Regions from separate parts of the Homo sapiens genome. Here all the other regions are linked to region 1. The links are contacts of gene promoters, found by promoter capture Hi-C in blood cells and fetal thymus (Javierre and others, 2016). All regions are on one chromosome and are shown on one strand. Each heading gives the region's core, a stretch centred on a gene start or on the middle of the fragment in contact. The rest is flanking DNA. Distances are from core to core; before and after follow the strand shown.

Region 1 (5,058 bases), core at 1,548-4,047:
GAACAGTATTGAAAAAACAGTATTGAAAAAGCTTTCCTTTTCTCATTGACTTGCTTTGGGATCTTTGTCAGAAATCAATTGACCACATATATGTGAGTCTATTTCTAAACTCTATATTCTTTCTCATTGATCTACTTTCCAACCCTTATGCCAATATCACACTGTTTTAATTGTAGTAGCATTATAGTAACTTGCATGAATTTACATTTCATTGCCACAAGCAATGAGAGTGCTATAGGCAGTGAATGTATCTGTTATCAAACTTTGATTTTTTTCAGTTTGATAGGTGGAAAACTAAAATATCTCAGTATAATTTAAATTTACATTTCTCTTTTCATGAGTGACATTGAGCATTTTTTCTTATTTTAAGTGCCTTTTGTATTTTCCTTTTGGTCACTGTCTAGAGTGTAATTGTAATATTGTTTCCCAGTTTGTCATCTTGTCTTCTGGTTTTACAGGTTGTATTTTTCACCCAAGCACAAGTTCAAACACTGTTATTTTATGGAGTCAAATCTAACAGTTTTTTACGGCTTCTTAATTTTGAGTCATCATTGGAAAAGTCTTCTGACTCCAAATTTATAAAATAATTATCCTTTTGGGCATATTTATTATTTATTTTTCATATCTCAATCTTTGATCTACTTGTAATTCGTCCCACTGTAAAGGATGAAGTATGGTTTCAACATTCCCTGCCCCCACACCAAAGGGAATACAAAATTGTCCCCAAAGTACATATAATACATATAACGGTCTACCTTTTCCCCATGGCTTTTATTTTGTATTTTATTTTATTTTATTAAAAATGAAATCGCACTGTGTTGCCCACCTGAACTTGAACTCCTGGGTTCAAGTAATTCTTCTGCCTCAGCCTCCTACAGAATGGGAGAAAATTTTTGCAATCTGTCCATCTGACAAAGGGCTAATATACAGAATCTACAAGGAACTTAAACAAATTTACAAGAAAAAACAAACAACCCCATCAAAAAAATGGGCTAAGGATATAGAAAGACACTTCTCAAAAGAAGACATTTATGTGGCCAACAAACATATGAAAAAAGCTCATCATCACTGGTCACTAGAGAAATGCAAATCAAACCACAATGAGATACCATCTCACACCAGTTAGAATGACAATCATTAAAAAGTCAGGAAACAACAGATGCTGGAGAGGATGGAGAGAAATTGGAACACTTTTACACAGTTGGTGGGAGTGTAAATTAGTTCAACCAATGCAGAAGACAGTGTGGCAATTTCTTAAGGATCAAGAACCATAAATACAGTTTGACCCAGCAATCCTATTACTTGATACATACCCAAAGGATTATAAATCATTCTACTATAAAGACACATGCACATGTATGTTTATTGCAGCACTATTCACAATAGCAAAGACATGGAACCAACCCAAATGCCCATCAATGATGGACTGGATAAAGAAAATGTGGCACATATACACCATGGAATACTATACAGCCATAATAAAGGATTAGTTCATGTCCTTTGCAGGGACATGAATAAAGCTGGAAACCATCATTCTCAGCAAACTCACACAGGAACAGAAAACCAAACACTGCATGTTCTCACTCATAAGTGGGAGTTGAACAATGAGCACACATGGACACAGGGAGGGGAACATCACACCGGGGACTGTGAGGGGGTGAGGGGCTAGGGGTGGGATAGCATTAGGAGAAATACCTAATGTAGATGACAGGTTGATGGGTACAGCAAACCACCATGGCACTTGTATACCTATGTAGCAAACCTGCACGTTCTGCACATGTATCCCAGAACTCAAAGTACAAAAAATCTCATAATTCAAGAAAAAAAAAAAAGGATGAAAAGGGGCCACTAGCTGAGGATGTGGACAGCCTGTAGAAGCTGGAAAAGGCAAGAAAATGATGTTCCCCTAGAGCCTCCATAAAGGATTAGCAGCAAGTAACTTTCTGAAGAAAATGCTGAGTAAGTATTCCTCAGAAAGAAAACACACCCCTTTCAATGAATCCTATTTAAACATCCAGTATAAACCAACACTGTGATACATTTTTATCTAATGTAATACCACAAGCAAACACCAAGCACTAAAAATGTTATAAAATGTGGACTTTGGAAAACCAAAAGAGAGCTAGTCTCTTTTCCAAGAAATTTCTTATTAGCAATCAAACCCTACCTTTTCCCCATGGCTTTTATTTTATTTCATATTTTATTTATATTTTATTTTATGTTATTACATTTTATGGAAAGCTAAAACATAAATCTAGCAATTATCTTTAAAACAAGACTTTTAAAAGACTAACATTTTAATTCATACTCACATTGTCCTGACACTGAAAATGGGGAAACCATTTGGGCAGAACAAACTAAAATATTGACTTCTGATTTCTAAGTTTACCAATAATTATTAAACATTAATAGTTTCCCTTTTCTAGAGAAGAAAGGAAAAGAAGGATGAACTCATTCCTGGTTAAGCTCAGTGCCAAGTGGAGAGGTCAACAAGAATGTAATGAACTTAGTATACTCACACCTGCTTAATAATGGATGCTGTTAGGACAGTTCCTTTTGAAGACATAATTTGAAGCTCTGGGTCCAATAGACAAGTAGTAGTTATGATGGGTAATAACTTACTAACAGCCTAAATGCACATGTTTATGAGACAAATAACTCTTCTTAAGCAAGTAAAAAGCAGACTAATAAGATGTTCCTACAGGATTTGATATAAACCTGAGAAAGGAAAACATCCCACCTGTGTGACACCACGTAGAAGAGAGGCTATATAAGCACTTCAAAGAGGAAAACACCAAGAGCCTTGGAATTCAGACTCTGTGGAGGTGGCTTGAGCTTTTCATCCTGGTGACCACAGACCTGGAACAAACTAAAGCCAGACACATACTATGGACACCAAGGGCTGTACAACAACCAATTCTCCTTCAACCCCATGTCAAAACTGCTCTAGGATTACAAATGTTAGTACCATCTCTTCTAACAACGGCTGCCATCCTGGTGGCCTTACAGTCAACAACTGTCAACCAGCTGGCCACGTTCTCAGAATTCCCTGGGACCAGGGCTGCCAACCCACTCCTCGCTTTTGTCGCAAGCCCATCTACCTAATGAACAACTTCAATGCCCGTTTTTCTCTGGATGACTGCAGCTGGTATGGTGAAGGCATCAACAGTAATGAGAAGGAGACCATGCAAATCTTGAACGAGCGCCTTGCTAACTACCTGCAAAAGGTGCGAATGCTAGAACGAGAGAATGCTGAACTGGAATCTAAAATCCAGGAAGAAAGTAACAAAGAGCTCCCTGTTCTATGTCCTGATTACCTGTCTTACTACACTACCATTGAGGAGCTCCAGCAGAAGGTAAGATTCCTAAGAACCTGTTTAATCGTGTTGTGAATTAATGGTTTCCAAGCAACAGTTATTTGCTAAACTTTAATATTTTTTGTTCAGTTGATGCTGAAAATTTTTTTGAAGAATAGAAAAATTTCTTGAGTGAAATTGTCATCTTGAGGCAGCATTCAGAGTCTGATAGTATTTCTGGTCAGGCGCAGTGATGCACACCTGTAATCCTAACACTTTGGGAGGCTGAGGCAGACAGATCACTTGAGCCCAGGAGTTCTAGACCATCCTGGGCAACATGATGAAATTCCATCCTTACACACACACACACACACACACACATACACACACAAAAAAAAATTAGATGGGCGTGGTGGCACATGCCTGTGGTCCCAGCTACTTGGGAGGCTGAGGTGGGAGGATCACTTGAGCCCAAGAGGTTGAGGCTGCCATGAGCCAAGATCCTGCCACTGCACTCCAGCCCAGACAAAAGTGAGACTATGTCTTTAAAAATCAGAAACAAAAAGAAGAGTCTCATGGTGTTTCCTTTCTCCAGAAATACACTCTACCATTATAACTAGATGACTCAGGACCAAAAGATGTTAACAGCAAGTTGTTGCCATTTTTTAAATAAAAATAGGGAAACAGAGATCAGAGAAAATAAATTTTGCTTTAATGAGTTTCTAAGCAATTTAGTTTTTATCCATTTTTCAACCATCACCACCTTTTTCTCCTTTTATGCTTATGTTATCATCTCCACATTGCTTGGTTTGTTTCTACACCAAACCTAAGTTTGTTATGCACAGACGTATTCTGCTACTACATATCTGGATTTATTCAGTTTTATTCATTCAACAAATGTTTACTGAGCAGCAACAACATTGGGCCAAACATTGTTCTAGATTCTGGGAAAATATTGGTGACCTTTAAAAAGTCCCTGCCCTCATGGAGTTGACATTCTAGTGGATCATGGTATTTATATAAATTTAGGATGGATTTTATTTTATTTTTTATTTATTTATTTATGTATTTATTGAGATGGAGTCTCACTCTGTCACCAGGCTGGAGTGCAATGGCGCGATCTCTGCTCACTGCAACCTCCAGCTCCCAGGTTCAAGCGATTCTCCCTCCTCTGCCTCTCTAGTAGCTGGGTCTACAGGCACGCACCACCACACCCAGATAATTTTTGTATTTTTTTTTTTTTTTGAGACGGAGTCTCGCTCTGTCTCCCAGGCTGCAGTGCAGTGGCGCGATCTCGGCTCACTGCTAGCTCCGCTTCCTGGGTTCATGCCATTCTCCTGCCTCAGCCTCCCAAGTAGCTGGGACTACAGGCGCCCGCCACCACGCCCAGCTAATTTTTTTTTTTTTTATATTTTTAGTAGAGACGGGGTTTCACCGTGTTAGCCAGGATGGTCTTGATCTCCTGACCTCGTGATCTACCCGCCTCGGCCTCCCAAAGTGCTGGGATTACAGGCGTGAGCCACTGCGCCCGGCCAATTTTTGTATTTTTTAGTAGAGACAGGGTTTCACCATGTTGGCCAGGATGGTCTTGATCTCTTGACCTCGTGATCCGCCCGCCTCAGCCTCCCAAGTGCTGATATTACATGGGTGAGCCACTGCTCTCAGCCTGGATTTTTTAACAACAACAACAAAAAAAATACTTAAAAGTTTCTAGTTAAGTACTTTTTGCTGATCTTTTAGGAAAATAACAGGAAATCTGACT
Region 2 (5,058 bases), core at 2,002-4,501, 470 kb before region 1:
GGGTCTTGCTTCTCAAAGATTTTCCAACTCTTTCTAATTCATCTTCTGGAGTCTCTTCCCTCACTATTGCTTGCCAGGGCAGGGTGAGCCTCCTGAGCTACTCTCCAAGTGGGTCGATTGCAGTGAAGCCTGGAGCAGCAAATGATGCCATCAGAGGCAGGTGTGAGGCTCACAGGTCCCAACGCACGGGCCCCGGTTTCTGTGCCTATGTGCAGAGGTGGAAGCTCGTGACTGTCATCCACAGGAGAGGATAGGACTTGTTTCCCACACTCATGCCAACACTGTGTGCTATTATCCAACTTAGCAAAACCTGATAAGAAAACAATATCTCTTTAGTTTGTATTTCTTAATCACAAATGAGCATACATTCATATATAGATAAAATCATATTTAATTTGAACAGAAGTGTACCTTTTCCATTCATCAAAGCCTCAGGAGTTGGATACCTAGAATAATACATTTATATGCTCAGCCTCTTCTCTCAAGAGTCTTCATGGTTTCTTGATCTAGGATTGTTTGGGACACCATTTTCTAACACCCTGGAGATGTGGCAGCACTAACTCTACATATAGTACTTGTCATAAATCTTTGCATTCACTGCAATGTGTGATGGGTGACGTTCCCACACAGGGCACAACTCCCTAGATGCCTCCCTGCATCTTCCAGCAGTAGGAGCCATGACACAGAAAAGATAAACTTTGAGTTAGGCACAATCTCCAGGTGCTAGCCTACAGCTCCATACCTTTCTCTCCCATTGGTTGAGATATGCCCCTATGTATCAAAATTAGTGAAAATGGCATTCCAAGACCACAGCTCCTCACCTCCATTTGCAGTAGACTTCATGCCTCTAGAGATCGGCATGTCTAAAGTCAGAATCCACACAGAGAATGTTGTGCACACAGGTGAATGAAGGAGGGCAGCAGGCTCCCATCTCTCACACTCTGTATTCATCACTTCTTGTTACTGAACCTGGCCTCATATTCGGTCACCAGGGGCCACAGGGACTCTTTTTAAAGGGTTGGGAAGGAAGAGAGTCTTAGGATCCCCACCCGCTCCTTCACCTCCTTTGAGAAAATACAAATCAGGGGAACAAAGCGATTTTACAAAGAGCCATGCAACATCAGTATCATTATGCAAAACAGTACAAGGTAGAAGCCCAAGCCAGGACCCAAGCCAGTTGGCAGAGAGGGGTGTCATCTGGACACACAAGGCTTCAGCAGTGATGAGTCATGTATTGTGAATGGACGAAATCGTGGCTTTTAGTCCATGGAATGAATCTGGGCAGAGGATAAAGCCAAAAGATGGGTGCTACTTAGCAAATCAAAGGAAATGACTTTAAAAGCCTGGCTCTCTGATTTATAGAGAAGCTTGTTGCTATGTGATGAGGCGGAGGAGAGTAACAAAAGGGTGTTTGAAGATGTAACATATGCAGATTGCACCCAGTGGCCTCTGGAGGATGGGACAGCCTGCCCTGGTGATGTCTCCCAATGATGTTGTCTGTAAAGGGTTATGGATTGGTGAGCTCTGAATAACCCTTAGGTCAGCGCTCACTACTACTTACTTTCCTGAGAAGCCCAATCTGGACTGAATTCTCAGATTCTGTATTTCTTCTTGATAGAACTCCAATAGCCTGTGTTTCACATATGCACGTCTGATCCCTATAGAGGTGTATGTTCAGCTTTTGTTCAATGCTCAGGGGACTGGCAAAAACTCATTTTCCCAAAATTCTAGTTATAATCACTTTGGATTGTTCCACATTAGGTTTTTCTTAGTCTCAGGGGTCTATGTATCTTCTGTCACAAATTTTGGGAGAAAAGTTTTGGGATCTCAGCAGCCATGTGTCTTGGATCCCTAGTACCAAGAACTATCTGAATGTGGAATGTGTAATATAACCATTTTAGGGACAGGACTTTCCCCTGGCATCTTCTGATTTAGCCCTTGGAGAAACTCTGTTTTATTGTATGAATACCTCCACATCTGTATTTTCTGAGATACAAAGGGAAAAATACACAATGTCAGATTTTTGTTTTACATCTTAATTTCAACTTCTTGCCCGGTTTCTAGGAATTTGAATCCTTCTTAGTTCTAGCAATGACACAGTAGTTATCCTTGGGGTGGAGGATTTGGAGGTGGTCAAGGTGAAGAAACAGTTTCTGGAGTTGAAAGAAGCTGATGTTGAGAATAGGCTTTATACTTTATAGTGAGGTTGATCTTAGAAAACTGTCCTCAATGGCTTGTTTATTTATTTTGTAAAATTAAGAGTACCCACCTCCCAGGTTGGAAGTAAAGATTAAAAGGTATCATTGCTCAATCCCCTAGCTCATAGGGTGAAGGCTCATGACTGACTTTAGAATAAAGGAAGCAAGGTATGAAGAGAGCCCACAGAGGCTCTGATCACTCAATGTCCTTTGACTTTCATGACCAAGTTCTTATTTGAGGTTCAGTAAGATTATTGCTCATTTCTCTTTGTTTATTTCTGGCTTCTTGAGCTTGCCCTTCTTGGTCGAGATAAGCCATGGTTTTTGGAGTCATCCTCATTTTCATGAGCTTCTCAGATACCTTGTTTGAAACATCACGTCTACCCAAGTTACAGTTGTTCCCCAATGGCAGGAACTATTTTGTGCTTAACCAACTATATATCAAGCATCAGCAAGGTGCGTAGCATATGGGACGTAGCCAGGGGATGTGTTTTGAGTGACTGGATTCATCTAAGTCTTGTTGCTCCTCAAAGTGAGTCTGAAAGGCAACCAACTAAAGAAAGAAGAAATGTAGGACTTCTTGATAACCCAAGGCCATAACATCCACCAATTCCAAGACTCAGTTTCTTCCCTGGATAGGGAAGGCTGGTTGAGTCTTAACCCAAGTGAGAACCATTGTCATCACCGGGGTTAGTCCTCCTGCTACACCACTGACCAACAGGAAAGTTTGTGTCTCCAGAGTGGACACATCCATAAAGAGGCCAAACCCAGTCAAGGTCTAAGCATCTGATGGCTATAACTTTGCTTCTTTGAAAGATAATAAAAAGCTTCTGACCTCCCATCAACAGCCAACCTGATTTCAAAGAGCCAAGAGGCCTCAGATTCGTCAACATTCCTTTAACGAGCTGAGAAACTTTTCATGGTAAACTCAGCAGCTGAGTAACAGGATGATGGCACCACAACAGGTAGATAATCAAGGCAGGAGGTCAAAGCATTGGAGCCAACACCCGCCCAGGATGGGGTATAAAAGGGCTGGGAGGAGAGGAGGCTTCAGTCTCAGTGGTTCAGCTTTCCCAGCTGATCTGAAGCTCCTGTGCAGCCTCAGCCCAACACCATGACCTCTTCCTACAGCAGCTCCTCATGCCCTCTGGGTTGCACCATGGCTCCTGGAGCAAGAAATGTCTCTGTCTCTCCCATCGACATTGGGTGCCAGCCTGGGGCAGAGGCCAACATTGCCCCCATGTGCCTTTTGGCCAACGTGGCACATGCCAACCGAGTCCGTGTGGGGTCCACTCCCCTGGGCCGCCCCAGCCTCTGTCTGCCGCCTACCTGCCACACTGCTTGTCCCTTGCCAGGGACCTGCCACATTCCTGGCAACATTGGAATCTGTGGGGCCTATGGTGAAAACACCCTGAATGGCCATGAGAAGGAGACCATGCAGTTCCTGAATGACCGCCTGGCCAACTACCTGGAGAAGGTGCGCCAGCTGGAGCAGGAGAATGCGGAGCTGGAGGCCACACTCCTCGAGAGGAGCAAGTGCCACGAGTCCACCGTGTGCCCCGACTACCAGTCTTACTTCCACACCATCGAGGAGCTCCAACAGAAGGTGAGGTGTGGGATCGCTTGGGTGTGCTGGGTCTGAGATGGCAGAGGCAAGACAGGAGGAATCCATGTAAAGCTCAGAGAACTTTGGGTTCTTGGTTTCTCTTGGACATGATCATAGACACCACACGTGGAGAAGGAGCCTAGGGCATGATGCTTTGTGTGTGAACTGTCTTCCTGTTCTCCTCAGATCCTGTGCAGCAAGGCCGAGAATGCCAGGCTGATTGTACAAATTGACAATGCCAAGCTGGCTGCCGATGACTTTAGGATCAAGTAAGTCAGGCGGAGGAGGGCCAGGGTGACTCCTTCCCCACCCTCCATCCCAATGCCCAAATACTTGTTGAGTGAGGGAATCATTGTCATTTCTTCCTTGCTAGATTCTCTACAGTAAAATTTTCATTACAATCGAAGCTGATGGAAGATGGAAGGGAAAACTCCTCATTAATCCAAGCATATATGTTTGTCTTCCTTCATTTATTTCCCTAAAATGGAGGATAAGGCAGCCTGAGTTCATTAACCAGGAGCAAAATGAGGTGATTTGAAGGATGAACTGAGCAAGACAGCCATTGGGTTTCATATATAAGTCAGAGGAGTCACTTACAGATGAGTCTTTGTCCAGATTTAATTAGGGAGCCCTAAGGTACCAGGTATAAGGTACCTAGGCAAAAATGAGAGAGGGGAAGACAGCTGAAAGCAAGGGATAAGGAGCCGCAGATCACGATCAGGCACCTGGTTATTGCTTATCTTTGGTAACTGACAGCCCCTGCAATGGCATGAGCGTTGGACTGGGTCCCAAGATGCATGATCTTACGCAAGTCAGTTGATCTTCCTGAACTGCAGTTGCCACAGAATACAATGGCAAAAATGTATATTGTGCAATGTAGTGTTGTGATTTCTCCATTAGACCATGAGCTCTTTGAGAAGAGGGGCTGGGTCTAATTCACCTTTGAGGACAGAGGGCTAAACAGAGTGAATAAATGAGGATCCAAGGTGGTGTGGGAGGTAGGAAGCCAGGGCAGCCGAGAGGGGCTCTTGGGGGCATTCTTTTTGACCCTGTACCTCCTGTGATGAAAGGCTGGAGAGTGAGCGCTCCCTGCGCCAGCTGGTGGAGGCAGACAAGTGTGGGACACAGAAGCTCCTGGATGATGCGACCCTGGCCAAGGCCGACCTGGAGGCCCAGCAGGAGTCCCTGAAGGAGGAGCAGCTCTCCCTCAAGAGCAACCACGAGCAGGTGTGGCCCTGGGCGCTCAAACTCCTG
Region 3 (5,058 bases), core at 1,635-4,134, 460 kb before region 1:
TCATATATTGTCACTGATATGTGGGAGCTAAGCTATGAGGATGCAAAGGCATAAGAATGATACAATGGACTTTGAGGACTTCGGGGGAAGGGAGCGGGTGAGGGATAAAAGACTACAAATAGGATGCAGTGTATACTGCTTGGCTGATGGGTGCACCAAAATCTCACAAATCACCACCAAAGAACTTACTCACGTAACCCACCTGTGCCCCAATACTTATGGAAAAAAACCCCACCACTTATGGAAAAAATACCACCTGTACCCCAATAACTTACGGAAAAAAACCTAAACTTTTTTTTTATAAGTAACATCACAGATGCTCACATCTTCACATGCTTTTAAGTATTATTTGTACTCAGTGTAAGGCTATTATCATTTTTCATACATAAAGTTTTTTTTAGCTGTGTAACAATGCAATTTGTAATCCATTCAAGTAAATTCAGCCCCAAAGTTGTTGCTTCCCAGCATTAAGTCCTGCGCCCACCCCTCTTCTAAGATTTTCTAAAACTTGTATTTCAGAGGAAAAAAGTGTAGCTGAAGGGAATGCATATTTGATGCATATTTGGCTACACGATTTCTGTTTACTGTATTTTGCTTCCTATTTTATGTCTAAATCCTATTATTTTCATTTAAAATCTTAATAATGGCTCATTTCCAGTATGTCAATTTCAAAGACTTAAGGTTTTGCTACTAGTATCAGCCATTTACTTTCCCACTAATTGGGATTTTTTTTTTTTTAAAGAGTTTATTTATACTCTTTTAGAGCTTGTCCCATGGTCCTTCTGGTTTCCCTCTACCACTTGGGAGGGATGACTCCTGGCCACACCCCCATTGGTTGACTTGTTTTCCAGCTCTACTGGAAATCTCTGGGATTTGGGATATACAGTCAGAATGTTTCTGTCAACGACAGACCACATATACGGGCGGTGGTCCCACAAGATTATAATGATGCTGAAAATTCCTATTCTCTAGTGATGTGGAAGTGGTTATAATGTCGTAGTGCAATGCATTACCTTTTCTATGTTTAGATACACAAATATTATCGTGTTAATAATAGTTGCCTATGATACTCAGTACAGCAACATGCTGTACAGGTTTGTAGCCAGGTGCTATAGGCTGTGCTATACAGTCTAGGTGTGTAGTAGGCTCTACCATCTAGGTTTGTGTGAGTTCCCCCTATAATGTTTCCACAGTGAAGAAATCTCTTAACGACGCATTTCTCAGGACGCACCCTGTCTTAAATGATGCATATGTTACAAACTAGCGTAACTTTTTTTTTCTTTTTTGAGACAAAGTGTCAATCTTGTTGCTCAGGCTGGAGTGCAATGGCGCAATCTTGGCTCACGGAAACCTCCGCCTCCCGGGTTCAAGCAATTCTCCTCCTCAGCCTCCTGAGTAGCTGGGATTACAGGCATGTACCACCATGCCCGGCTAATTTTATATTTTTAGTAGAGACCGGTTTTCTCCATGTTGTTCATGCTGGTCTCGAACTCCTGACCTCAGGTGATCCGCCTGCCTTGGCCTCCCAAAGTACAGGGATTACAGGCGTGAGCCACCGCGCCCGGCCTAGTTTAACTTTTTAAAGTGCATTTTCTTGTTGTCACTGCCATAGTATTTAAATCTTTTCCTTTGCTGGAACACAAAGACCTTCAGTAATTTTCTTTTCACCACAATTTCTCATCCAGTAACTAAGCCCCTTCTTGCCCTCTCCTTAGGCCCAGCACTGACGGGGCAATGACACCGTTGTTCTCACCGGGGGCCATGATGAAGTGAAAAGAGAATGGGCCTAGCAGACATGAGACTGAATCGAGCCTTTGCCAGTTCACTAACTGTCAATCAGAAAATGTGCAAATGTACTTCACTCTAGTTTTCTCATCTGTACATTGAGGCAATGAGTAACCACCTCATAGGTGGTAAGGGTTAGATAGGAAAGAACACAGTAGAATGCCTAGCACACCTAAGTACTCAATCAATGTTAGTTCTGGACCTTTCATTTGAATACTGCTTGAGCTCTGTGCCCAATCTCCCTTTCCTGGATCAAATAAGATTTTTCTTTGTTAGTGATTTCTTTCTAGATACTTCCTTGGCCAGAACTATAGATCCTCTGTCTTTCACTAACTCTTGTTGATCTATGGTTCTCATTCAAGTTTGTGTAGAACATCCAGAGATTTCAGAGGCATTGTTTACTCCTGATGAACAGGGAACATTGCGTGTCCAGGAACCAGCACACTGCCTGAGTTATGGGGGATATTCAGGAAGCATGCTGAACCAATGAATGAATGAACAAATGAATGAATAGCTGATTCTGACTAGTCAACCAAAACTTAATTAGCGCCATTGCTTCCAGATGTTATTGCTTCTCAAGGGAGTATGCAATGTGAAAGAAGAAAGAAAAAAAGGCGCCTCTCAATCGTCAAATATCAGTAGATGCATTGGTTTTATTAACTGATATTTTCTCTTCAAAGGAAAGGCTGATTCAGTCTTGCACAGGCGAAAGATCCAGTGGGTCCCATTGGTTCTCTGTGTCTCCTGCTACACAAATTACTGACGGAAAGATTTGAGCCTTCATTGTGACCACATCCACAGAGACCATAGTCCAGAGAGAGCAATTGGGGCCTGAATCAACTGCTGGTGTTTGTTGAGCAGAAACAGTGAGTCTCTGACTTCCCACCAACAGCTAACCTGATATGGAAGAGCCAAGAGGCATCTCAGATTTGTCAACATTGCTTTAATGAGCTGAGGAACTTCTCATGGTAAACTCAGCAGCTGAGTAACAGGATGATGGCACCACAACAGGTAGATAATCAAGGCAGGAGGTCAAAGCACTGGAGCCAACACCCGCCCAGGATGGGGTATAAAAGGGTTGGGAGGAGAGGAGGCTTCAGTCTCAGTGGCTCAGCCTTCCCAGCTGATCTGAAGCTCCTGTGCAGCCTCAGCCCTACACCATGACCTCCTTCTACAGCACCTCCTCATGCCCTCTGGGTTGCACCATGGCTCCTGGAGCAAGAAATGTCTTTGTCTCTCCTATCGATGTTGGGTGCCAGCCTGTGGCAGAGGCCAATGCTGCCTCCATGTGCCTCTTGGCCAACGTGGCACACGCCAACAGAGTCCGTGTGGGGTCGACTCCCCTGGGCCGCCCCAGCCTCTGTCTGCCCCCAACCAGTCACACTGCTTGTCCCTTGCCAGGGACCTGTCACATTCCCGGCAACATCGGAATCTGTGGGGCCTACGGCAAAAACACCCTGAATGGCCATGAGAAGGAGACCATGAAGTTCCTGAATGACCGCCTGGCCAACTACCTGGAGAAGGTGCGCCAGCTGGAGCAGGAGAATGCAGAGCTGGAGACCACACTCCTCGAGAGGAGCAAGTGCCACGAGTCCACCGTGTGCCCCGACTACCAGTCCTACTTCCGTACAATCGAGGAGCTCCAGCAGAAGGTGAGGTGTGGGATCGCCTGGGCATGCTGGGTCTGAGAAGGCAGAAGCCTTCGCAGGAGGAATCTGCATAAGGTCCAGAGAGCTTTGGGTTCTTGGTTTCTCTTGGACATGAGCGTAAATACCACACATGGAGTGGGAGCTTAGAGTATGGTGCTTTGTGTGTGAACCGTCTTTCCGTTTTCCTCAGATCCTGTGCAGCAAGGCTGAGAATGCCAGGCTGATTGTACAAATTGACAACGCGAAGCTGGCTGCTGATGACTTTAGGATCAAGTAAGTCAGGATGAGGAGGGTCAGTGTGACTTCTCTCCTGCTGTATTTCCAAGGGCCCGCCCCATTACTCAGTCTATATTGTAGGTGTTCAAAAACAGTTTTTGACTAGAAGAATATTTCTCTCCACACCTTAAATTAGCCTGTTGCTAGAAATGGTCATTATATAGGAGGAAAGAGAATATAAGCATTGAAAGAAAAAGAAGGGCTGTAGTCTAGATTGGTTAGAACCTATGTCACTTTCTCCCATATCTAGAAGATAAGAGGATTTTGCTTTTCAATCAGAAGTAAAATTGAGTCATCACAAAAATAAACTGTCAATGCATAGGTTGTTGCTAGACTCTCTGACTCTTGGCCAAATCCATCAGCTGGAGGAATTGTCATTGAAGCTCCTTGGTAGCTAGAGTTGTGCTTGAATGAAGGGGAAAAGCAAGAAAACAACGAGAAATAATGAATCCAAGAGGAAAAGCAGCAAACTGAAGGTCCAGAGGCTTATTTTTAGCCATTCTTTTTCCTGGCCAAATGACTCCTATTATGGCAGAATAAATGCTGCATTTGAAGTCAGAACACTTAGGATGAGTCCATGCATTTACTATTAACTGGGCATGGAATTCTGAACAACTCGTGTTTTGTTTCTGAGCCTCAGTCTTCCATCTGGTCAATGGGCATAATGTCCTGACTACAAACCGTGTCGCTGCAGGGTTGAGAATAGTGTATACTGCCCACGTGAACAAATAAGGATCCAAGGTGGTGTGGGAGGTAGGAAGCCAGGGCAGCTGAGAGGGGCTATTGGGGCATTCTTTTTGACCCTGTGCCTCCTGTGACGGAAGGCTGGAGAGTGAGCGCTCCCTTCACCAGCTGGTGGAGGCGGACAAGTGCGGGACGCAGAAGCTCCTGGATGACGCGACCCTGGCCAAGGCCGACCTGGAGGCCCAGCAGGAGTCCCTGAAGGAGGAGCAGCTCTCCCTCAAGAGCAACCACGAGCAGGTGTGGCCCTGGCTGCTCAGACTCCTGGGGAGGGCGCTGGGCAGACAGGGGAGCTCCCCGGCCCTGGGGCTCTCAGAGCATTGCCTGGGCTCAGCTGGCCTAAGGATGCAGGGCTGAGGTGGGTCTGAGGGTCCAGAGGGCCTCTGTGGAAAGTGCAGACTTGCCTTGGGCATGAGGAAGGTGTCCAGGTGGGCTCTCCCAAATGCACTCTGGACAAGACTTTCCCATTTGCTTATGTGTGGGACTCCCCTCCTACTGCTTGCCAGGGACGGAGTCCTGGTGCTGTCTGCTCCATCAAAGGCCGTTTCCTTACGCAGGCTGTCTATCGCTTCCATTTCTGCAGGAAGTAAAGATTCTGAGGAGTCAG
Region 4 (5,058 bases), core at 1,467-3,966, 360 kb before region 1:
CAAAGCAGGACAATACATGAGACAACTGTCCCTCTCCCAGGCCCCTGGGAAATGCTGGGATGGGGAAGATATTCAGATGTCAAGAGGAATAGGGCCCAGTGTCTTGATTCTCATTCCAGTGCTCTTCCTGTTCACAGGAGTGGCAGGGCTGCACATTTGGAGCAAAACTGAGATGAGTTTCAAGGGCCGCTGAGCATCTTACCCACCCACAGCCTTTCCCAGTGTTCTGGGAGATAAACAGCTGTCTCCTATATTGTCCTGGATCCCTGGAGGATGGGCCAGGCTTGGAGGTGGAAGAAGAGCTCAGTGGGGAGGGGGCCGAGAAGGGGCTGCCCAGAGGTGACACATCTGGAGTCCCCAAATCTGCATCAGGGCAGATGAGTAGAGCTGCACTCTCCCAACCTGCTCATGTTGGCCTTTTGTGATCTTTCATTTTGCCCCATCCGCGTTGCCCTTAGGTATTCATTGCTACCTGTTATCACTGGAATAAAAATGGCCATGGGCATTCTGCCCTTCCTCCACCTCCCTCTTCTCCATCCCTTCTTTCTTCATCTGTGTATTGAGCACATACCCTGTGCTGGGCCCCTTCTAGATGCATGGCCAGGGTTGTCCTCATTGATGAAGCAAGGTTTGAGCAAGGTTTGTAGGAGGTGATGGGTCAGCCAAGCAGTTTTCTAGGCAGAGAGCATTCCAGGCAGCGGGAATGGCTTGTGCAAAGGCCCTGAGGCAGGAGCATGATTGGCATGCCTGAGGCCCAGAGGGGAAGCCTGCATCTGGCCTGGTGTGAGCTAGGGGAGAGCAGGAGATAGCTCAGGGAGAGAAGGCCCAGGTTCAATGACCTGAGGCCACTGCAAGGCTTCAGCTCTCCCTTGGAGCAGCTGGGGAGCCATTGAGCAGAGCAAGAGCCAAACTGAACGGGTTCCAATTTCAGCTTAGCTATCAGGGAGCTATGTGACTGCACCAGGTCCAGGCGGACCCACCTGTACATGAGTGACAGCACCCACAGGGTCCAGAGCTCACATGTCCATGGGTCCAGCTCAGTGCCTGGCATGCCGAGAATACTTGGGAAATGCCAACTAAGGACTCTCACCTCAGGAGGGTCTCTTCTCATTTCCAAAGCTGTCTCTTGCTTTGGAATGCACGCAGACACTGGGCAAGTATATATGGAGCTTTTAATCTCTGCCTGACACCAGAGACACATCCACAGACTGACCGAGTTTCCTGCCCTTGTGCTGCACTCCCCTTGAGGAGACAGACGACGGTGACATGCAAGGAGCTAAGATGTCAGGACACTGAGCTGTGAACGAGGCAAGCAGGGGCTGAGGGATGGAGGAGACAGGGTGGTGGCAGGTGGGGGTGGCCGGGATGGCTGGAGCCTGGGACCAAGGTAGGTTCCTGCACTGCTCTGCGTGGGGACCTAGCTGGGCTCTGAGTCATGAGGGCAGACAGTGGCCAGGGTGAGGCTGGCACTGTGCATCCCCTTCCCCACTGCTGAAGATGCCGCCTAGGGTGGGCTCACAGTCTTTGGGGAGTTAAGAACCATCCTGATCCTAGAGAAGGTTATTTCTGGAAGCAAAAATCCAGGGTTTATGCTCCTGGGACAGGGGATCCCTGGAGCCTCTCATCCTCCCCATAGCCTTTGCATTGGGCAGTGAAGGCGTTTTCCTGTTGAGTCTGAGGAAGGGAGAAGTGGTGTCACTTGGGGTGTCAGCTTTCATCTCACTTAGTCCTCACGGGGGCCTGCAAAGTAAGGGTCACCATCGGCCCAATTTACAGATGAGGACACTGAGGTTCAGAGAAGTTACATGATTTGCCCAAAGTGACACAGCTACTAAGTGGCTGAATGGGATTGAATCCAGGTCTTTCTGAGACAGCCCAAGCTGTTGATGGAGCCCTCTGGCTCACGGATGAGCAGGTAAAGTGAAACAAACACTTTAGAAAGCTTACCTGAGGGTGAGGGGGCAGGCAATTGAGCCTTCTGTGGGGTCCGAAATGTTTACAGTTGTCTCTCTGCGTACGTCGGGAATCAGTTTCACCACCTCCCACAAATACCAAAATCCACAGATGCTCCAGTCTTGATATAAAATGGTACAGTATTTGCATATAACCTAAGCACATCTTCCCATATGCTTTAAATCATCTCTAGATTACTTACCTATGCAATCATGTGTCAGATAGCAACATTTCAGTCCGTGCCAGAATGCATATAGAATGGTGGTCCCATAAGGTTATAATGGAGCTGCCCTATACAGGTGTACCATCTCTAAAAATTGATATCTAAAAAGAGATGGGGTCTTTTTATGTTGCCCAGACTAGTCTAGAACTTCTGGGCTCAAGTGATCCTCCCGGCATGGTCTCTCAAAGTGCTGGGATTATAGGCATGAACCACTACATCTGGCCAGGTGTACCAATTTTTTTTTTTTTTTATCATTTATACTGTATTTTTATCATTCTTTTCTGTGTTTAGATACACAAATAGCCATCATTGTGTTACCACTACCTATGGTACTCAGTATGGTAACATGCTGCAGAGGTTTGGAGCCCAGGAGCAATCAGCTCTACCATTCAGCCAAGGTGTGTGTTTGGTTGCAACCTCTGAAGGAAGCTAAGGAGGAATGACCTAAAGACAGAAGGTGAGTCCGAGGTGGGATCCTGGGACAGGTACCAGAAGTTAAGCAAAAACAGGTGAAATCTGAATGAATTTCACCATATTAATATAGTGACAGCATTAATAACCTTAAATAATAGTTAACATTATTATTCAGTTAACAGGATTGCACCCATGTTAAATTCCTTAATTTTTTTTTTAAGAGAGAAAGTCTCATTCTGTCGCCCAGGCTGGAATGCAGTGGTGCGATCATAGCTCACTGCTTCCTGGATCTCTTGGGCTCAAGCGATCCTCCTGCTTCAGCCTCCTGATTAGGTGGGACTATAGGCACACGCCACCATGCCTGGCTCCTTATTTTTTTTTTTTTTTTTTTTTAACTTTTCTCCAGGGATAGGGTCTACCTATGTTGCCCAGGCTGGTCTCAAACTCCAGGACTCAAATGAACCTTAACCTCCTGCCTTGGCCTCTCAAACTGCTGGGATTACAGGTGTGAGCCACCACACCTGGCCTAAATTTCTTAATTTGGACAAATGTGCCATGGTAATGCAAAATGTCATTATTAGGGGCAGCTGGACGGAAGGTGTCGGAGTACACTATAATGCCTTTTCAGTTTTTCTATATATCTAAAATCATTTCAAAAGTAAACATTTATTTTAAAACATGGACGTGGTTATCCTTCCATGAGTGTAAAGTACAAAAGGCAGGCTCATGGTGTTGTCAGAAGTCAGAACACTGGTTGCAGGGCTGGGGGCGCAGAGGCTGGGTTGGCTTTGTGATCTGGGGGCTGATGTGTTCCATCTGTTAATGTCTTTAGAGCTGTGCACTTTCTTCATAAATTTTCATAAGTTTAACAAAAAAGTAAAACGAGGATGGGAAGCTTGTTTGGGTTGTGGGGCCTCGGGAGTGTACTGCTGCTTGTCCCTAGCTGTGAATGGGGTGCCCTGGTCGGAAGCAGTGCTGTGTGCACTGCAGGGCCGGCAAGTGCATGTCCACGTTGTGGCTCAGTGCAGTGAAAGCCAATCTCAGCCCCTTCCGCAGTGTGGTCAGCCTGCCAGTAGGTGGCCAGCTGGTCCTTCTGGGAAATGGTGCCATCCCAGGGGTTGGGTGTGAATCTGTTTTCCACAGACAAGGCGCTCAGCAGTGGTGTCAGCCTGGTGAGCCTTGGTAAGGGCATGTGCAGGATGCTGAGCCTCTCCCGTCCCCATGCCCGTCTCATGGCCACTTGCTCTGCGGGCCCATCCAGCAAGCATGGTGGCTGGGAAAGAAGCCGGCTCCATCCACAGGGCATGCTGTTTTGCCCACCTCAGGACCAAGAGTATTCTCTGTAGTAATTCTCTTTGGTGGGAGCACTGGGAACATGAACAACAGATACCTTCAGAGTCTGAGCTGCTGAGGTGAGGGCTGCAGGGTGCCCTGCTGTCAGGAGAGCCTGCACTGGCAGCTGGAAGGCACGTGGTGGTGGCACCTGCTGTGGCTGCAGCAGTGGCTGCAAGGCTTCGAGATCTCTCCCCGGTTCTGTAAGGTGAATTGTGACAATGCAGAGCTCTGCAGTGCCAGGGTCCCCTGCATGGTCATGCTGACTGCAGCTGGGAGCCCACCACAGCCCTGGTACCCCTCTCTTCCCAGGGCTGGGGTCTAGGCCAGGCCACTCTTGGCCTGGGTATTGTGCCCCAGGTCCATACTGCTGGCTGTCTGGGGCTGCAGGGATGCCGTGCTCACGTCTCTCTCTTGTGGCCTTGATGGGACCAGCTTCCCCATTGAATGGGATCTTCCAAGGTATCTGGGGCTGCGGGGAAGCTGGTGGGTGCCACCCTGGTTCCTTCCAGATACAGGTGCCCATGTTGCAGTGGGGGTATCTCCTGATCTCCTTCTTAGTCCTGATGGGCCTGGGCAGGGCCTGGTGTCGAGGTCCCCATGGGCTTCCTGGGCTAGGTCTGTCCCATGGTCCCAGGGCTGTCCAGGACACATTTGGAGGGGACACGGGCCCAACAGCCCTGTTCGAAATCATAATGGGGAAACCAAGGGCTCACCACGTCCGAGTCCATTGGGAGCTGAGGCAGGGAGTTCCACTGCAGGTACCTCCAGGAAACCCGAGGTCCTCCCTGAGCTGGGGCCAGTCTGGGCACACCCTGGGATAGCCCCACCAAGACAGGACAGGGTGTGAAAGGAAGAGGCACCCATGGCGGGGAAGCTGACCAAATGCACTGCTGGAAGTGGGCTTGTGGGCCTGGAGGAGCCTGCCTACTCCCCTTGCAGAGGGTCTTCCTGCCACACGGTGAAGCCAGCTCAGGCCTGGGTGCTGAGGACCCTTGCTTAGGTTTGGCTGAAAGGAAAACAGATATGGTCAGCATCTCCAGTGAGCCCATGCAGATCTTTCCGGGTCAGGCCCCACCTGCCTGGGTCTCTAGAGTCCTCAGGGTCTCTGTGTGGCCCCCGTGGCCTGACAGGAC
Region 5 (5,058 bases), core at 1,208-3,707, 300 kb before region 1:
ACCCCATTATGCAACAACTATCACAGTCAGTGGCTTTTGTCCCTTAGCTGAGTCTTCTGAGCATTCTAGATACACCACCTCAGAAGCTGGTATCTGTCCTGGAAACCTACATTGTTAGCTCCTCAGAGGTATTTCTACCACTCCCATGCCGGTAGGAGGTCCCAAGAAGGTGGCCCAGGTCCCTAACTTTTCTAATTCTCTCAGGGCCAGTATCAATGAATCCCTCCATGACTGAATACTTCAGTTGCATCATCAGTTCAGGAACAAAAGCGCCAGTTTTCCATCTATCATGACTTCCATGAATGAGAAAGTTCTTCCACGTTTCCTCCTTCTTAAATTCTTCTGATTTCCCTGGAAACACAGGTTTTTGGTTTCTTGAGATGCTTCCTATTTGCCTCACAAAACTCAGAAGGTTGTTTTATACCTTTATGGTTTGTACAAAGTCATACATGCCCATTGCATAGTCCCTCAATCCCCAAATTTGTTTCACTTAATTTTCCTAATAACATTTTGATTTGAGGGACAATTTGACTTAATGTGGCTTAATGTATGGTCCATATTTTAGAAGGAATAACTTAAATTCTTTTTGCTTTGTCAACAGGTATTCAGGAGAAGGAAGCCATATAAGAATATTATTTACGTGATACCAGGAAAAAAATCCCCAAATGAGATCCTCTCTCATGAGGACACAATGCATTCTCAAAATTTTCTGATGCAGATTAATTGAATAAATAGCTGGTCAAAGACTGAGACAAAAAGGGATCCTCACTCAGGGCAGCTATTAAATGCCGTCCCTGTTGTCATCCCATGTAGCTATTACTCACTGAGGTGTGGAAAACTAATTTGGGAAGACCTTTGTGAACAGAAATGTCGTCTGCAAATATGAGAGATTATACCTCCCACATTAAATAAACTCAAGTGCATGTCTTGCTATTGCTGAGTCTCAATATCATTTCTACTTTACCGAGAGTTAAATGTAAGTGTTCTTGGGCAGAAAGAGAAGCTCTCACCTTGGACTAGAGTCTGTCCTTTATTAGCTACATAAAATCACACACTAAATTGTTCTCAGCTGAAAAATTGAGGTAATAATACATAATAATAACTCTGTTTTCAGAATCAAATTGGATAATACATATAGCATGCAATATGTGTGTAAATCTCATATCAGCAATTCTGTAAAATAAAACACCATATGAGATGAAGGATGGTTCAGAATTTATTCAGAAATATATAGGTAAGAATCCCTGCTACTAGGGACATAGCCCAAAGTTACAATGAAAAGAAGAAAGAAGGGTAAAAGAAACATGAGGACAAAATTGAAAACAAAAATATGATTGCAAAGATTATTGATCAGTTGCAGAAACCTAAGTTTCTTAGAAGGAGAGAATGAAGCTCTTGACTTTAGAGTCGAATGGAGACCATGTCTCCACATTGAGAACACATGAAGCTGGCACATGATCCACAAAGTGTAAGGAAAAAAGAATCAGGATGAAGTATTCTGCCCTCCCTCAAGCTGATTCCCAAGATTTTAAACAGGCAAAGAAATAAAAAAAATTGGTGAAAGCATACTGTGTATCAGTAAAGTTTGAAAGTAAATCTGTCTTCTGAAAGATAAGTGAGTTGGGTCTGGGTGTGGTAGCTCACACCTGTAATCCCAGCACTTTGGGAGGCTGAGGCAGGTGGATCACCTGAGGGCAGGAGTTCCAGACAAGTCTGATCAACATGGTGAAAACTACTAAAAATACTAAAAATACAAAAAATTAGCCAGGCGTGGTGGCACAGGCATGTAATCCCAGCTACTCAGGAGGCTGAGGCAGGAGAATCACTTGAACCCAGAAGATGGAGGTTGCAGCGAGCCGAGAGCGTGCTACTGCACTCCAGCCTGGGTGACAGTGAGGCTCCGTCTCAAAAGAAAAAAAAGGTCAGTTGAGCAGAAGGTTGTTGTGTGAGGATGATGGTCCTCTGTGGTGCTGCTCAGCAACAAGAATGCTGGCAGCAGCTGGACACACAGCAGGCTGGGCAGTAGCAGGGCTGGCAGCAGCTGGATCCACAGCTCTGGTTGAGGCAACCAGGCAGGCAGACAGTCGTGGGGTGGTAGCAGGTTCTTCTGCAGTACACAGGTGCACAGGAGCTGCTCTGGCCACAGCTGGACCCACAGCTGGTTTGGCCACAGCAGCTGGACCCACAGCAGATGGGCTGGTAGCAGGGTGTGCTGCAGCAGGAAGGCTGGCAGCAGCTGGTCACACAGGTGGGCTGGCAGCAGGTGGTCCTGCAGCAGGTGTTTTGACAGCAAGTTGGGTGGCAGTAAGGCTGGCAGCAGCTGGACACACAGCAGGAGGGCTGGCAGCAGGGTGTGCTGCTGCAGGTGGTCACAATGGTGGGCTGCCAGCAGGTAGTCCTGCAGCAAGTGGTCCTGCAGCAGGTAGGCTGACAGCCAGGGGAGCAACAGTGGGTCATGTTGTCAGGGGTGGAGGGTGGGCTTCTGTTCAGAGGTGAGTTTCCCAGGATTTGATGACCCCTTGCAATCTGGACCTTTTATACATGTGGCCTCCAAAGTTTCCACCAATCAGCAGGATTTTTCTTTCTTGCTGTTTACAGTTGTTTTCCATAGTCAGTTTGGCATTGTCAAAGAGGAAGTCATTTCCTAAATGTTATGAATCTTTGGAAAGTAAGGGTTTAATCTGTTTCTTAATTGTAAATTACTCGTAGAAACTTTGTTTCAGATAAAAGGAAGGCAGTCTCATCATCAGCTTCGTTCCTGCTCTGACCAGCATCTCGTCATGTGATAGTTCCTGGTGACTGGGGAGGCTCAGGAAGTTCTCTCTGCCCAGTCTCATCCTTTGGCTGTATGTAGACTGGGAAGTGTCTGTGGGGAGAAGCATGATGTTGATATATTCACAGTGGTGAATTGAATCCATGCTTGGGACCAAGACTGTTCACCCACCAAAGTCTGATTCAAGACTGATAGGCATCTCTCTATGTACAACCTACTTTACCTGTCTCTTCCAGTTCTATAAAAGCCTCTTGGGAAGAGGGTGTTCAGCACAATGTGTGCTATGTGGCAGAGCAGAGCCAAAGCAAACACGTAGAAAGAGGAGGGGTTCACTGGAATTCACAAAGCATCAAGCAATCTACGTGCTGCGGTGACCATTCACCCTGATTTGTCTGGGACTGAGGGGCTTACCAGCATGAGAATGTGGGACTGGGAATTACTGTGACATTACTGCTTGAGGTCCAGGCAAAGCAATATGAGCTGTGGCTCTAGCCCTAATCCAGGTTACTGGCACAATCATTGCCATTTCTCTGTCTCTGTCTCTGTCTCTGTCTCTGTCTCTGTCTCTCTCTCTCTCTCTCTCTCTGTCTCTCTGTTTTCAGTGAGGGAATTAGGTGAGTTGAGATGATATCTGATTCCTCTTTGAGGTTTACCATTGTTTAAAACTTTTTAAATTATACCATTCATTTCAGAAGAGTGCAAATTATGAATTCCAACTTGATATAATATTACATTATAAATACATCTAAGTCCCCATTACCAGTTTACAAAATAGAAATTAATTCCATTCCCTCCAAATTATATCTTTTTACTTATCTCCAAAGGTAGCTAGTCACTCTATCAAGTTTTAATCCTGTAGGTCAGTTTTGTTTTTTTCTTTGACTTTTATGTAAATAAAAATTATAGAATTTGCTTCACTGTGTTTTTGGCATAATCAAAAGCAGCAATTATAACCTGGTCATTTCATTTTGGATCCTTCATGTTAGCAGACCAGCAGGTAGATAAAGGAGTTAATATTCCATGAGGGATAATTTTCGTGAAGCCATAGAGCGTAGGGAGAATATATCTGAAACTCAAGAAATTTACTATATATATTAAAGCATTACACTGCCATTAAAAACTATGGCAAATCAAGTGGCTGAAGTTTATTTTCTCACAGTTCTGAAGGCTAAAATAAAGGTGTTGGCAATGTTGTTTTCATCTGAGGGCTGTGAGGGAAATATCTGTTTCAGGTCTCTCTCCTTGACCTGTAGATGTCTATCTTCTCCATGTGTCTCTTACATCATCTTCCCTCTATATGCATCCTGTTTGAATTTCCCCTGTTTATACAGACACCAGTCACATTGAATCAGAAGCACAATTTATTCCAATATGACCTTATCTTACCATCTTGCATTTAAGTGACCCTATTTGAATATGAGTTCTTGGGGACACAATTCGACCCATAACCTTGGAATATCTCGTAGTGTATCCATGCCCATTGATAAACACAAATGAGTAACAAAAGCAACCACAGTTGGACAATGGTGTAGTAAGTAACTAGAGGGTAAGACCCATCAGGCAGGAAGTTCTGAGCTACTTCATCAGGCAATTATCTAAACTAACAGGAGTGCTGGCCAGTGATGAAGGGAGTATAGAACTGGCGGAAACTGATGGAGATTATGAATCTCAGAAGCACCCTATTACAGCAGTAGTTTCTTTTCCCTTCCCTCCCTTCCCTTCCCTTCCCTTCCTTCCCTTCCCTTCCTTTCCCCTCCCCTCCCCACCCCTCCCCTCCCCTTTCTTTCTTTCTTTCCTTTTCCTTCCTTCCTTCCCCTTCCTTCCTTCCTTCCTTCCTTCATTCCTTCCTTCCTTTTCACTCTCTTTCCTTCTGTCTCTTGCTCTCTTTCTTCCTCCGTTCCTTTCTTCCTGTCTGTGTATATTGTCTTCTTCCCATATCTTTCCTAGTTTTTTCCTCCTCTCTCACCTTCTGTTCCTCCTCTTCCTCCTCCTCCTTTTTCTCCTAGAGTTCATGGCTGTCCATTACATTTAAGAAGGAAAGATTGGACTTGAATGGAGCAAATGTTACTGTAGACAGGTCTTCATTACCATACCTGTATATCATGGAACTTAGGGTGCTCATACCAATTTCCATCTGCCTGAATCTGCATCTCTGTGCCTTAGGGCTCTTGTATTGCAACTACAGAAAGTCATGTCACCTGTGCACACTACAGGGAGAAAAATATTCAACTGAAAATTCTAAAGAGTGGATTTATACAGACTCTAGCTTCTTCACTGCTGAAGTT
Region 6 (5,058 bases), core at 1,666-4,165, 270 kb before region 1:
TATTGCAGCTGTAGAAAGTCATGCCACCTGTGAATGCAATACAGAGAAAAACACTCAACCAATGATTCTGGAGAGCTGATTTATAAAGACTCTAGCTTCCTCATTCCTGAAGTAGGATAATACCAGCTATGTGTTTTTCATCATTTCTGATAATTTTCACTTTAGTTTAAGCTTTAGTTGGTGACTGTGAAACTGACTTAATAGTGTACCCTTTTCTGTATCACTTCCCCAGTCCCTACCAGTATGATCTGCACTTCCCAGTAAACTAGTTTCACTGGAATTTTTTTTCAGAGTCTCTTCTGGGAGAAACTCATCTATGACTATACGTTAACTCAGCCTCAAATTTCTCATCTCTACAAGAGGAACATTAATACCTATTTTGAAAGTTTGTTAAATAGTTAATAATAATGTACACAAAGCATTTATCCAGTACCCATCATAGAGCAGGCAACACAGAATTAGTGTTTTTTGTTCAGAAAATTCCCAAGTTTTATGTTGAAGATAAGAATATTTTTGTATTAATTAAATAGATCAACTAAATACGTTTTTTTCTAGCTGTATTGAGGTATAATTGACAAACAAAAATTGTGTACATTTCAGGTATAGAAGGTGATGCTCTGATATATATATTGATTGTGAATAACATATTTATTAGGTCACTTAGTTACCATTTCCTTTTTATTTTTCTGGTGTGAATATTTAAGATCTACCTTCTCAGTAAATTTCAGGTATATGATAAAGTGTTTTTAACTATAGTCATATTACTGTACATTAGACCTACTGAACTTATTCATCTTTCATAACTGATGCTAGTCAAAGAGAATGTCCTAGTTTTCATCTCCTTTACTTCATCCCTGAACGATGATGACAGTAAGTGGCTGTTGTCTCTTAGCCAAGTCTTCAGAGCATTCTAGATTCACAGTCTCGGAAGTTGGCATCTGTCATGGAAATCTACATTTTTAGCTCATCAGAGGTATTTCTACCACTCCCCTGCTGGTAGGAGGCCCCAAGAAGGTGCCCCAGGTCCCCGACTTTTCAATTTCTCTCAGAGCCAGCATCAATCAATCCTTTCATGAGTGAATGGTTATCTTACATCAGTTCAGGACCCGAAGCACCAACCTCTGTCTATTATGTCTTCTATGAATGCACAAGTTCTACCTTGCTCCTTTCTTACATTCTTCTGATTTCCGTGGAAAAAGAAGTTTTTCATTTCTTTAGATTCTTCATATTGGCCTCACAAAATGTGGAAGGTTGTTTTTATTCCCTTCCTTAGCTCAGAGATTATGGGTTGTGCCAAGTCTTACATGCCCATTGCATAGTTTCTCAATTCCCAGCTTTGTTCTTACATAATTTTACTCATAACACTTCAAGTAGGGGACAAATTGTCTTAACGTGGCATAACGTATGGTCTGTATTTTACAATGAATAACTTAGTTTCATTTACTTTGTCAATTGGTATTCAGGAGACCGATGCTGTATAAGAATTTTATTTACATCACACTGAGAATAAGTTTCTTCAGATGAGGCTCCGTCTCCTGAGTCCACAATAAATTCTCAAGCATTTTTTGATGCAGATGAATTGAATGAATGGCTGGTCAGAGGCTCAGACAAAAAGATCTCTGCATTCAGGGCAGCCATTAAATGCATATCATGCAGCCTTTGCTCACTGAGGTGTGGGGAACTACTTTGGGATTTTTTTGTGTGTGAACAAAAGTGTTATCTGCAAATATGTCAGATTATTCCTCTCATTGTTAAATAAACTCAAGTACATGTCTTGCTAGTGCTGACTTCCAGTGTCTTTTCTACTATATTGGGAGTTAAACGTAAGTGTCCTTGGGCAGAAAGAGAGGACCTCACCTTTGACCAGAGTCTGCCCTTTACTAGCTACATAACATCACACATTAAATTGTTCTCAGCTGAAAAAATGGAGTTAATAATACACGACCATCTGTTTTGAGAATCAAATTGGATAATACCTATGGTATGTGATATGTGTGTAAATCCCATATCAGGAATGCTTTCAAATAAAACAAAACACTATATGAGATGAAGATGGTTCAGAGTTTATTCAGAAACATATAGGTAAGAATCTCTGCTACCAGAGACATAACCCAAAGTTATCGTGAAAAGAAGAAAGAAGGATACAAGAACCATGAGAAGGATATTTAAAATGAAAATATAATTGCAAAGATGATTGATCAGTTGCAGAAACCTAAATTCCTTAGAAGCAAAGAATGAAGCTCTTGATTTTTGAGACAAAGCTGAGATCATGACTCCAAATTAAGAACAGACGAAGCTGGCACATGATCCACAAGGTGTAAGGAAAGAGGGAATGAGGATGAAGTATTCTGCCCTCCCTCAAGCAGATTCCCAAGATTTTAAACATGTAGAGAATTCATAAAAATTTGGGTGAGAGCATGGTGGCTGTCAGCAGCAAAGTAAATTAGTCCCTCAAAAGACAAGTCAGTTGAGCTGAAGGTTGTTGTGTGAGGATGGTAGTTCTCTTGGGAGTTGATTAGCAGCAAGAAGGCTGGCAGCAGCTGTACACACAGGTGGGCTGGAAACAAGTGGTCCTGCAGCAGGTGGTCTCACAGCAGGCTGGGCGGCAGCAGGGCTGGCAGCAGTTGGAGCCACAGCTCTGGTTTAGGCAACCAGGCAGACAAACACTTGTGGGGTGGTAGCAGGTTCTTCTGCAGTACACAGGTGCACAGGAGCTGCTCTGACCACAGCTGGACCCACAGCATGTGGGCTGGCAGCAGGGTGTGCTACAGCAGGAAGGCTGGCAGCAGCTGGTCACACAGATGGGCTGGCAGCAGGTGGTCCTACAGCAGGTGTTTTGACAGCAAGTTGGGTGGCAGCAAGGCTGGCAGCAGCTGGAAACACAGCAGGAGGGCTGACAGCAGGGTGTGCTGCTGCAGGTGGTCACAGTGGTGGGCTGCCAGCAGGTGGTCCTGCAGCAGGTAGGCTGACAGCAAGGGGAGCAACAGTGGGTCATGGTGTCAGGGATGGAGGGTGGGCTTCTGTTAAGAGGTGAGTTTCCCAAAATCTGATGACCCCTTGCAATCTGGACCTTTTATACACCTGGCCTCCAAAGTTTCCACCAATCAGCAGGACTTTTCCTTGTTGCTGTTTACATTGTTTTCCACAGTCCATTTGGGATTGTCAAAGGGGAAGTTGTTACTGAAATCTTATGAACCTTTTAAACTAAGGGTTTAATCTGTTTCTTAATTGTGAGTTACTCATAGAAAGTTTGTTTCAGATAAAAGGAAGCCCGTCTCATCATCAGCATCATTCCTGCTCTGACCATCATCTGGTCATGTGACAGTTCCTGTTGATCCGGGGGGCTCAGGAAGTTCTCTCTGGCCAGCCTCATGTTTGGCTGTATATAGACTTGGAAGTGTCTGTGGGGAGAAGCATGATGCTGATATATTTACAGTGACAAAATGAATCCATGCCTGGGCCCAAGACTATTCACCCACCAAATTCTGACTCAAGACTAACAGGCATCTCTTTGTGCCACCCACATCATCTGTGTCTTTCAGTTCTTTGAATGTCACTTGGGAAGACGGTGACTGCACAGTGTGTTCCATGCGACAGAGCAGATCGAGAACAGGTGGATGCAGAGAAATCTGCTGAGATTTAGACAGCATCAAGCAATGTATGCCCTAGGACGACCATTCATTCTGACTTGTCTGGGAGTGTGGGGATTTCCGGGATGAGAATGGAGGACTTTCTATCACGTAACTTCTTGAGATTCAGGCCAACCAGCATGTGCTCTGGCTCTAGCCCTAAACCTAGTTACTAGCAGTAACTAGAAGTAAGCGTTGAAATTCAGGCCAACCAGCATGTGCTGTGGCTCTAGCCCTAAACCTAGTTACTAGCAGTAACTAGAAGAAGAAGTAAGTAGAAGTAATTTCTTCTATTTCTTTTCAATGAAGGGATTAGATGAGTTGAGATGACACCTGATTCATCGTGGAGTTCTAACATGTTGAAAACATTGTCTAGGTATATCATTCACTTGAGAAGAATGCAAATTATTAATTTCCAACCTGATATAGTATTACATTGTAAATACATCTATGTCCCCATTACCAGGTTAGGAAATAGAAATTAATGCCATTCTCTCCCAATTATATCCGCTTACTCATTTCCAAACAGCTAATCACTCTATCAAGTTATAATCCAGTAGATGACTTTGGCTTTTTAAAATTTCCATGTGAATAAAAATTATAGTATTTGCTTCTCTGTTTCTTTGTTATAATCAAAAGGAATCGTTATCGCCTAGTCATTTTGGACTCTTCCCGTCAGCAGAGCAGCAGACAGAGAAAGGAGTTACTATTTGGTGAGGGGTAATTATCTTTAAGCCATATAGTGTAGCAGAATATATCTATAGCTCAGGATACTTAGTAAGTGTATTAACTTACCAGCACTGCCATAATAAATTACTGTAAACCAAGTGGCTTAAATTTATCTTTTCACAGTTCAGAAATTAAGGTTTTGGCAATGTTGTTTTCATCTGAAGCCTGTGAGGGAAGTACATGTTCCAGGTCTCTCTCCTTGACTTGTTGATGTCTATCATTTCCATGTGTGTTTGATATAATTTTTCTGTTATATGCATGCTGTCTCTGAATTTCCCCCTTTTATATAGACATCAGTCATATTTAATCAGAGGCCTAATTGTTTCCAATATGACCTTGCCTTATCACATAACACTTTAAATGATTCTATTTGAATATGAGTTTTGGGGGACACAAATTAACCCATAACACTGGAGAATCTCATAGTGTGTCCATGTCCAGTGATAACTACAAATCGGTAAGAACAGCAATCACAGTGGACAGTGGTATAGTAACTAGAGGCTCAGACAATTTAGGAAGGAAGTTATCAAGGCAGTTATCAGGCAGTTATCCAGACCAAGAAGAGTGCTGGCCAGCGGTGAAGGGAGAATAGAACTGGTGGTAATAAACGGAGACTGTGAATCTCAGGTGCACTGTACTATAGCAGCAGTAAGTGTAGCTTATTTCATTGGCCTTCATTTTACATCTCACTTCCTCTCCT

What was found. Contacts are between HindIII fragments. The CHiCAGO score rates a contact against its expected background, and 5 or more counts as called.
Region 2: the fragment with the promoter of KRT38 here is called in contact with the fragment with the promoter of KRT39 in region 1 in 17 of 17 cell types (non-activated CD4 T cells, activated CD4 T cells, total CD4 T cells and 14 more); the score reaches 13.3 in non-activated CD4 T cells.
Region 3: the fragment with the promoter of KRT37 here is called in contact with the fragment with the promoter of KRT39 in region 1 in 17 of 17 cell types (naive CD8 T cells, activated CD4 T cells, total B cells and 14 more); the score reaches 15.3 in naive CD8 T cells.
Region 4: a fragment that was not itself captured here is called in contact with the fragment with the promoter of KRT39 in region 1 in 3 of 17 cell types (M2 macrophages, naive B cells and M0 macrophages); the score reaches 7.3 in M2 macrophages.
Region 5: the fragment with the promoter of KRTAP9-6 here is called in contact with the fragment with the promoter of KRT39 in region 1 in 6 of 17 cell types (naive B cells, erythroblasts, total B cells and 3 more); the score reaches 7.3 in naive B cells.
Region 6: a contact is called between a fragment that was not itself captured here and the fragment with the promoter of KRT39 in region 1, in 2 of 17 cell types (total B cells and non-activated CD4 T cells). The highest score is 6.1, in total B cells.

What each region holds. Positions count from the first base shown.
Region 1 is chr17:40,964,687-40,969,744 of GRCh38, reverse strand. KRT39 (keratin 39) reads left to right here and starts at 2,797. Exons shown (of 7, transcript NM_213656.4): 1 at 2,797-3,356. The coding sequence starts at 2,889. All of the region lies in intron 1 of LOC107985072 (a long non-coding RNA gene), which reads right to left. The HindIII fragment of the contact is 5,044 bases long and covers 34-5,058 here.
Region 2 is chr17:41,439,176-41,444,233 of GRCh38, reverse strand. KRT38 (keratin 38) reads left to right here and starts at 3,251. Exons shown (of 7, transcript NM_006771.4): 1 at 3,251-3,804; 2 at 3,991-4,073; 3 at 4,875-5,031. The coding sequence starts at 3,313. RefSeq lists an enhancer at 3,095-3,595. The HindIII fragment of the contact is 7,679 bases long and covers 3,028-5,058 here.
Region 3 is chr17:41,422,411-41,427,468 of GRCh38, reverse strand. It overlaps KRT37 (keratin 37), which reads left to right and starts at 2,884. Exons shown (of 7, transcript NM_003770.5): 1 at 2,884-3,437; 2 at 3,625-3,707; 3 at 4,535-4,691; 4 at 5,035-5,058. The coding sequence starts at 2,946. The HindIII fragment of the contact is 11,234 bases long and covers 1-5,058 here.
Region 4 is chr17:41,328,123-41,333,180 of GRCh38, reverse strand. It overlaps the pseudogene TBC1D3P7. Among named protein-coding and RNA genes, the nearest start is that of KRTAP17-1, 15 kb to the right of the region's middle. RefSeq lists an enhancer at 3,071-3,640. The HindIII fragment of the contact is 1,543 bases long and covers 1,945-3,487 here.
Region 5 is chr17:41,262,777-41,267,834 of GRCh38, reverse strand. KRTAP9-6 (keratin associated protein 9-6) reads right to left here and starts at 2,457. Exons shown (of 1, transcript NM_001277331.1): 1 at 1,975-2,457. The coding sequence starts at 2,457. The coding sequence ends at 1,975. The HindIII fragment of the contact is 5,841 bases long and covers 1-5,058 here.
Region 6 is chr17:41,230,439-41,235,496 of GRCh38, reverse strand. KRTAP9-3 (keratin associated protein 9-3) reads right to left here and starts at 3,048. Exons shown (of 1, transcript NM_031962.3): 1 at 2,043-3,048. The coding sequence starts at 2,995. The coding sequence ends at 2,516. The HindIII fragment of the contact is 5,484 bases long and covers 174-5,058 here.